3 separate regions of the Homo sapiens genome follow, and regions 1 and 2 are each linked to region 3. Evidence: promoter capture Hi-C in 16 types of primary human blood cells and fetal thymus (Javierre and others, 2016). All regions are on one chromosome and are shown on one strand. Each heading gives the region's core, a stretch centred on a gene start or on the middle of the fragment in contact. The rest is flanking DNA. Distances are from core to core; before and after follow the strand shown.

Evidence for each region. The method cuts DNA at HindIII sites, captures the fragments that hold promoters and counts their contacts. A CHiCAGO score of 5 or more calls a contact.
Region 1: a fragment that was not itself captured here is called in contact with the fragment with the promoter of OSBPL8 in region 3 in 1 of 17 cell types (fetal thymus); the score reaches 6.9 in fetal thymus.
Region 2: a contact is called between a fragment that was not itself captured here and the fragment with the promoter of OSBPL8 in region 3, in 2 of 17 cell types (naive CD8 T cells and total B cells). The highest score is 5.5, in naive CD8 T cells.

The regions. Positions count from the first base shown.
Region 1 is chr12:77,054,678-77,057,377 of GRCh38, forward strand. E2F7 (E2F transcription factor 7) reads right to left here. Exons shown (of 13, transcript NM_203394.3): 3 at 1,178-1,453. Among named protein-coding and RNA genes, the nearest start is that of E2F7, 9.5 kb to the right of the region's middle. The HindIII fragment of the contact is 1,509 bases long and covers 651-2,159 here.
Region 2 is chr12:76,049,853-76,052,552 of GRCh38, forward strand. It overlaps NAP1L1 (nucleosome assembly protein 1 like 1), which reads right to left. Exons shown (of 15, transcript NM_004537.7): 12 at 679-801. Among named protein-coding and RNA genes, the nearest start is that of PHLDA1-DT, 19 kb to the left of the region's middle. The HindIII fragment of the contact is 3,492 bases long and covers 1-2,700 here.
Region 3 is chr12:76,558,345-76,561,237 of GRCh38, forward strand. OSBPL8 (oxysterol binding protein like 8) reads right to left here and starts at 1,427. Exons shown (of 24, transcript NM_020841.5): 1 at 1,053-1,427. It overlaps LOC105369850 (a long non-coding RNA gene), which reads left to right and starts at 1,558. Exons shown (of 4, transcript NR_188081.1): 1 at 1,558-1,889. RefSeq lists an enhancer at 348-657 and a silencer at 1,068-1,257. The HindIII fragment of the contact is 3,809 bases long and covers 1-1,825 here.

The DNA of each region.
Region 1 (2,700 bases), core at 155-2,654, 500 kb after region 3:
TCTGCCAAAGTAAGAGATCAACAATGTTACCTTGCGAAAGAGGTCACTAACGATTCCCATTGGCTGATTTTCACTTTGCTATATTTTTGTCAAAAAAATTACAAAAAATCTAATACTTACATGCCTTTGACAACAAAAGGCACATTTAATCTTATTTAGTTTTTAGAACCCCAATAAAACCAGGACAGGTACCACGACCCTCATTTTACAGGTGAGTAAATTGAGATGCAGAGATCCTGAGTGATATCCCCAACTCACCCAGCTAGTGATTTGAACCTAAGGCCTTAGACCAGCTCCTTGTGTGATCCACATCAAACATAAGACGGAAAGGAAGCCAAAGAACAGCCCAGACTTAAAAAAAGGAATTGTGAAATTCCTCTGGCTTCAAGCACATAGGAACTACTGTGTGATTTGTATTTAGTTACATGAAAGAATCTCTTACTACTACCGCTACTCTACCACTGCAAGATATATAACAGATTAAATTCATTCTGTTCTATGAATTTCAAGTTGTAATTCGAGACATCTTTTTTCTCTCTTCCCAATTTCTTCATTTTGGCAATTTTTATAGCTTGAAAAATCCGCCAAAAAGAGAAAAATGGTTAAGAATACTGAAATCTGCAAAACTTTTCTTAGGAAGTCTGAGAAAAAGCTTGATGGGAAGTGAAAATAATTACCTTTTTTTTTTTTTTTAACGAAGTATAGACATGCTGCTTATTCAACAGCACTGGTTCCCCACAGAACAGGTAATTTAAAGATGGCTTAACTTCAATAAAGCCCCAAACTAACCAACTGAACATATATAAGAATAATGGAATTTCCTAAATCAAAAATATTTACATTAACATTATCCCTAAAATCTGGGCAAAATTAAAATTCACAGCAGCATTTAAAGAATCCAAATTCCTTCATTAAATAAAAATGATTAAATATCATTACTTTAAAATAATTTATCATTTTTAAATGAGCCCTGGTCCAGGGAGTATCATACAGAAAAGAAAGCATTCATTATGAAAAATAAGATAGAATGAGAATTCTACTACAAATCAAAAGATATTCAGTTTGCCACTGCTTTTGGCTCAATAGGAGCTGAAAAGTTGACAGTTCTATGATTTTTTAATAATCAAGTAAAATTGTTTAAGTTCTAAAAAATCCCTGAGGAGCACAGTCTGTTTACCTGTAGAGAATCTGTAAATGCATCGTCCTTGTTTTCAATGGGTCGGAATAGTCCCTTTTTCTTCTCCCGGTCCCTTATATCTGGGCTGGCAGCACTAATGAGCATCTTCAGGTTAGCTGTGGGTGTCCATGGTTCCGCTTGCTGTCTGTCAACAAACTTAACTGGAGTAATGGGATTTCTTTCTGGAGTAAATTTTTTTTGCTTCGATAAATCAATTGGTTCATTTTTTATTGGAGTCTTCGGGGCCATCCTTGATCGATCAACAAATATATTTTCCTATTTTAAAAAAGAAACTTTTAGCAAGAATGAGAAAGGGCAGGTATCAGCTAAGAGTATACTTTGTTCCCACCATTCACTAAGACTTGAAAATACAAATAGGACCATATGTTTAGGGCTGAAAAGTATCAGGATAGGACTAACGAAAAGTAGTCATGGGAATAGAAGAGTGGCTCCAATGAGAAGTAGATTATACTCTGCTACTCCTTTTACACCTATCTTTCATGGTATCTCTGTAAAAGAAATCACAACGTATCTGTTACTGTTGCATGTTTATAACAGATGAGGACTATGAGGGCCAATGTGGGTTGAGTCCATATTGTTTCTAAGTGTCACCTTTTTTAAAACACTACTTACAAGTTTGCATTGACTAGTGAAGAGCAACAATGCTTCTGTAGTTCAATGTGCACCAGTGCTAATACAGCACTTAGTAGCAGGACCAGTTAATGGAAGAGCATCCAACAAAATCCCACATTTTAAGCCAACCTAGAGAGCTCTCTAACGTCATTCTCCAGAGCAGTGCATCTCAAACTACCCATGGTAAAGGACTCGTTTTTTTAGATTTCCAAACTCCTGCAAACTGATATGTGACCTTACTTCACAGGACTAATGTGCAACACAACTCCCACCAGATGTGATTTGCCATTTGAGTTTGTCACTCAAACTGACCCACAGCTTCTTCAACAAGAAGAGACCACTAATCATAAGCTTAGATATGGTGGCAATACTGAATTGCTACTGAGGTTTATTTTTCTTACTTTTTTTTTTTTTTTAAAAGATAGGGTCTCACTCTGTTGCCCAGCCTGAGTACAGTGGTGTGATCATAATTCACTATAGCCTCAAACTCCTGGGCACGTGCAATCTTCTCGCCTTAGCCTCCCAAGTAGCTGGGACCACAGACATGCACCACTACACCCAAATACTTATATTTTATTTTTTGGAGATAGGGTCTCACTCTGTAACCCAGGCTGGAGGGCAGTGGCATGATCACAGCTAACTGCAGCCTCAAACTCCTGGGTTCAAGTGATCTTCCCACCTCAGCCTCCCAAAGTGCTGGGATTTCCAGTGGTGTGCATACTACAGTGGTGTGCACACCACTGCACCCAGCTAATTTTTAAAATTTTGTGTGGAGACGGGGTCTTGCCATGTTGCCCAGGCTGGTCTTGAACTTCTGGCTTCAAGTGATTCTCCTGCCTCAGCCTCCCAAAGTGCTAGAATTACAGGCATGAGACACCAGGCCTGGCCTT
Region 2 (2,700 bases), core at 42-2,541, 510 kb before region 3:
ATTTATCACTGTATAAACTAGTGTCTAAAAAGAGAAAACCTACTTTCCTATCAAGGGGCTGATTATAAATTAAAACACATAGTAGCTGCAAGAATCACTCTGCTCACTGCCAATTTATAAAATTAAAGAACAGAGTACAATCATGTGGATAAAGTGGATGATCAGACAAGTATTACTGTAAATATTACTCACCTACACTTAAGTGTGGAATGCACTGTACGAAAAGGACCTAAAGCCTACTCTAACAATTGCCGTTGAGCAATAAACATATTCAAAACATCTATATGCAACCTAATCTTAACCTAACCATCATTCAATACTACCTTGAATAGAAATTCTATGCCTCCCAGTAAATGTTTTCTTGTGCACTAAAGAAAGTCCTAGCTCTGTGAAGTCAAGGCAAGGGCATAATAGATCTATAGCACTAACCAAACATAAAAAAGTTTCATAAACTCAGAACAATCTTATTAGCAGAAAATTAAAAGCTAAGATAAATGAATCCAAAAATCCTAAGGAGACATACTTAAAACCCAGAAAAGCTATATACAGAACATCAGTAATTAGCCTAATTTTGAATTATATTATGTCCTGCTTCTTAAAAACTAAACTAATCTATTACCAATTCTGACCACTATACCCTCAACCAATTATTTCTTTGCAGGATTCAAATTCGCTTACATCATCATCATCATCTTCAATAGCTTCTCCAGTAAAATATAACACTGATCTTGGGATTATACGCTCACGTAAAAAGTGACCAATTTCGAAGTCTGCAGCAAGGATAGCTTCAGCATCATCATCCTATTTTTAAAGGAAAACAAAAGCAGAAAATTTAGGAATAACTGTGTTACTTAATTTGGCACATGTAAGACTCTTAGAGGCTGGGTGTGATGGCTCACAACTGTAGTCCCAACACTTCAGGAGGCCAAAGTAGGAGGATCACTTGAGCCCAGAAGTTCAAGAGCAACCTAAGCAACATAGTGAGACGCCCCCTGCGTTTGTACAAAAAATAAACAATTAACTGGGCAGGGTGGCACACGCCTGTAGTCTCAGCTACTTGAGAGGCTGAGGTGGGAAGATTGCTGGAGCCCAGCAGCTTGAGGCTGAAATGAGCTGTGATCACACCAGTGTACTCTAGCCTGGGCAACCGAAAAAAAAAAAAAAAAAAGACAGACTCTTCAGTTTAAATTATATGATGAAGGGAAGAAATGCTCAACTTTACTTTTTACTTTCCATGATTTTTCTCACACCATGTTAACAAATGATTTGTCATTTTTAAATTTCCTTAATAACTTTTCCAAGTTTTTAACAAAAAGAAAATAAGCTAGCAGGCCAGTATGCATACTAAGATAAATTGTGAAGAATAAAAATTAGAACTGCTTAGTTTTTGCTGGTTTAAACATAAATACATAAAAGCAACTGTTACATGTCCGCAATTTTCCTTTTAAAATATTATTGAAAACACCAAATAGAAAAATAAAAAAAAAAACCCTTGGGTTATTGTTAATATATAGTTATTGTTAATATTGTTAAGTACATAGCAAATAGAAGGACATAATAAACAACCACAGAGGATCACTTTATAGTTCCTAAAAGACAGTACCCAAACAGCTGTACAGTTTTAAGTCTACTAATCCCAAATGAGACAGTCCTAGTTCAGAAAGACAATATACTAACTAAATCAGGTGCCCCTAGCACTTTTCTTTTTTAGAGACAGGGTCTCGCTATGTTGCCCAGGCTGGCCTCAAGTGATCCTTCCACCTCCGCCACCAGAGCAGCTGGGACTACAGGTGCCTGAAGCTGTACCTGGCTTAGGATTTCTATTTAATAGAAAAGCACAGGGCAAAAGTGGGTCTGACATTATTCACAATTAAAATAATCCCACTTTGGCCTGGCTCATGCCTGTAATCCCAGGACTTTGGGAGGCCAAGGCAGGCAGATTACCTGAGGTCAGGAGTTCAAGACCAGCCTGGCCAACATGGTGAAACCCCGTCTCTACTAAAAATACAAAAATTAGCGAGTTCAATGGCACGTGCCTGTAATCCCAGCTACTCGGGAGGCTGAGGCAGGAGAATTGCTTGAACCCGGGAGGCAGAGGTTGTGGTGAGTGGAGATCGCACCACTGCACTCCAGCCTGGATGACAGAGCAATACTTCATCTCAAAAAAAAAATAATAATAATAAAATAAAATAATCCCACTTCTATGATACTAAACAATGATACAAGTTCTATGATACTAAACAATGAGCACACCCTCTGTGAATTCCATGAATGTTTGAGTCAACAACATAATCTAATAAATAGAAAAATCCAAAAGGGGGTGGGGAGGAATTCAAACCACAGGTGGAGGTTTTCTATCCTTAACTAGACTGTTTTGTCATCATCAATATTTAGTAACAAACAAACAAACAAACAAAAAAAAACCCCAAACTTGAACACAAACTCCAACCCATCCACTGATATGAAAATAGTGTGATGCTCTATCTTAATACTTAAAGTAGTTTTTCTCACCTGAAATTCACACTGCTTTATGTTCTCTTTTTTTGTCCTATAAGCCAAGCCAGAAATACTTACTTTTGCCTTTTACAAATTTGTTCTAAGTCTTAGCCAAGAGTATTCCAATTCAAAAGTATTCAGTTTAGGTTAATTTCTAATTCCATATATGTACAAACTATTTAAACTATCTCAGTTAATTTAAAT
Region 3 (2,893 bases), core at 177-2,676:
TTAACAATCAATTCACCCACGATTCTCCACAATTCTTGCTCTCTCTAGATACGAAGGGAGGCAAAAACTGTTTTAAAGGATTATTTCAAAAGCAGCACTAATTTTGGGAAAAACTTAACTGCCATGCAGGAGACACTGTATTACTACTCAGACGTCATTTAAGTCTTCTAGCAGCAGAAAGGCAAAAACATCATTAAATTTTTTATTTAATGCATATATACTTACATTATCAGTTAAAGTTTACCCATCTGTTTACGTTGTCCAAGTTACCTATTATTTCAGAAAGCATTTAAATAAAATGAAATTAGGTTACGTTCTGCAACGCAGATGTGTCTCATAAAGAAGAGTGTTAAATGACTTTTGTGAATGGAAAATCTGCATATACTGTTGCTTCGCCTCAGCCAGTCTTGAGTGGGTGGTTCAATGAACCTAAAGCATGCTGCCTGTGAAGCTCCTTGGAACCTGATTCCACTCTTGAGAGAGGGCTTAGAAACAAACATTAAATTTAAAAGCACAGCAAAGGCTTGGCTTTCCTCCTACGTTACAAGAAGGCCGGGAGAACTGAGGCTTAGAGGAACAACACCGTGTCGCTTGGCTCTGCAAAGGCGGGTGCGGTCTGCGGTGCGCGGCACAGCCTTCTCTGGGGCTGTCACAGGAAAGAAGGAGCCTCGCCTTAACCGCACCGAGCGACAAAGCGCCAGCTCTCCTGGGCGCGGGGGCTCCCAACGAGGCCCATGCCATCAACCTATCAAACTTCAGGAGGGACAGACACCCGGGGCGGTCGAAATGCTCCAACAGCCTCCCACCCCCGTTCCCCTGCCGCGGCTTTTGTAAGGCTGCAGATGCACCTACTGTGGGCCCCTAAACACTCCACCCTGCCAGCCTTTCCAATCCCCCTACTCCAAAAGGGAACAAAGGAGCCAAAGAACTCCTCGGCGGGGGTGGCCAGGAGTCCCCGACAGCCCGAGCTCAGAACGTGGCAATAAGGGTGCGCAGTCGCCCTGAGGGGTGCGAACCCAGCACCCCAACCTCAGGAATGGAGCAACACTCACCCGTGCGGAGCTCCCAGGGAGGCGGGACGCAAGGAGCCGGTTCCTCCGAGGTCGCCGCGGCGCCGGGGTCCGAGGCCCCGTAAGCGTCTAGTCAGACCCCAACTTCTCTCGGCCGCTGTCGTCGGCGGCAGCTGGGGCGCGAGCCTGGACGAAGGGCGCTGCCCAGCGGCCGCGGAGGCACTGCCGGCTCAGCCCCCGAGCGGGGCGGGAACTTTCGGCCCCGAGGTCCACCAGCCCGGGCGGACCCCCACCTTCCCTCAGTCGGCTTGCTACCGGCAGCGGCTACTGCGGCGTCCAAAGCTAACACTACAGCCGCCGCCTGGCCAGGAGCGCGTCGCGGCCTAATGTTGTCATCCGCCGCGTCGCCGCCTTTCTGGGCACCCAGAACCGCGAAGATCCTTCACATTCTAGTGCCCTCCCCCTGCCCCGCCCGCCCCCCGGATCACGGGCTTCGGCCACGCCCTCTTCCCGTCACGTGACGGTGCGCGGAGGCGGTGGTGGAGTTGCTTCCCCTGCTAGGCGGGCTCGAACCGGGCGGGAGTCACTGTCCACCTTGCTTCGCCAGGGTGTTATCGCCAGCCAGTCCCCTTCCGCATGCCCAAGGGCAGCCTCAGGAAGCGAGCCCACCACCGTCGGCCCAGCGCCTGTTGATCGGCCAGGCCTTCTGGGCCGGTCATACTGGGCCCTTCCTAACCTGAGGAGATTGCACAGTAGGGCTCCCTGGTCTGGTCAGGGCTCAGTTAGGACCCCTCTCCAGCCTTAGGCTTGGTGAAAGCTTTAGCGAAACAGAAAAAAGAACGCATCGTGGTGTAGAGTGTATGGCCTAAGAAGCATTCGGTAACTAAACTACTTGTTCCTATTTCTAGTGGCACATTAACCGTGGCATTTAATTTACTGCTTTCCTCATTAGAGGTTTTTTTTTTTTTGAGGAAACGGTGTATTTCAATCATGCTGGGATGAAAACAGCCTAGCAAACTTATTTTTGTTCCTTGTTATGTTCAGGATCCTGCTGCCAGTTTTACAGTCATTAAGTTTTACAGTGTGTTAGGTTGGTGACAGTTTAAACGGGTACGCAGGAATTTGACAGTTTGTTCCATTTTTTAAAATAAAGCCTAATTCTTGATTTTTTTTCTAATGCCTTAATTTTTTTTTCCTAATTCCTTAACTCTAGGACTTAACCTTTTGCTTTCTTTTTTAGCCATGATCCGAAGAACCCTCTAGCCGCCTAATGAAATCCTAACTATACAGAAGTAAGGGAGGTAGAATAAAGATCATACTCAAACCCTGATCACAATGAAGGCAAATGAGAAAGCTTTCTGTAATAATTAAATTGGGGTCATAACTCATTTTCCCTTGTAGCCCAGAACTAAGGATTTTTTTCTTAAGCTATTCTCATCTCATTACATTTTCTTAACAAGAAATCAGAAGGCATTCTGATAAGCTGGATACATTGAAATGAATAAGCAATAGAGTTTGGCCTATATAATTATTATTAATATATTTCATAGCAGCTCTAAAAAAATCATAGACTTACATTGTTTTATGTTACCCAAGAAAGAAAACAAAGGCTGCCAATGAAACTATGCCATACCGCTGATATGTAAGGCACCTTTAAGCCACATCTTTTTCCTTTTTTTTTTGAGACAGGGTCTCACTCTGTCTCCCAGACTGGAGTGCAGAGGCGCAATCTCGGCCCACTGCAATTTCCGCCTCCCGGTTCAAGCGATTCTCCTCCCTTAGCCTCCCAAGGAGCTGAGATTACAGGCATGCGCCACCATGCCCAGCTAATTTTTGTATTTTTAGTAGAGAGGAGGTTTCACCATTTTGGCAAGGCTGGTGTT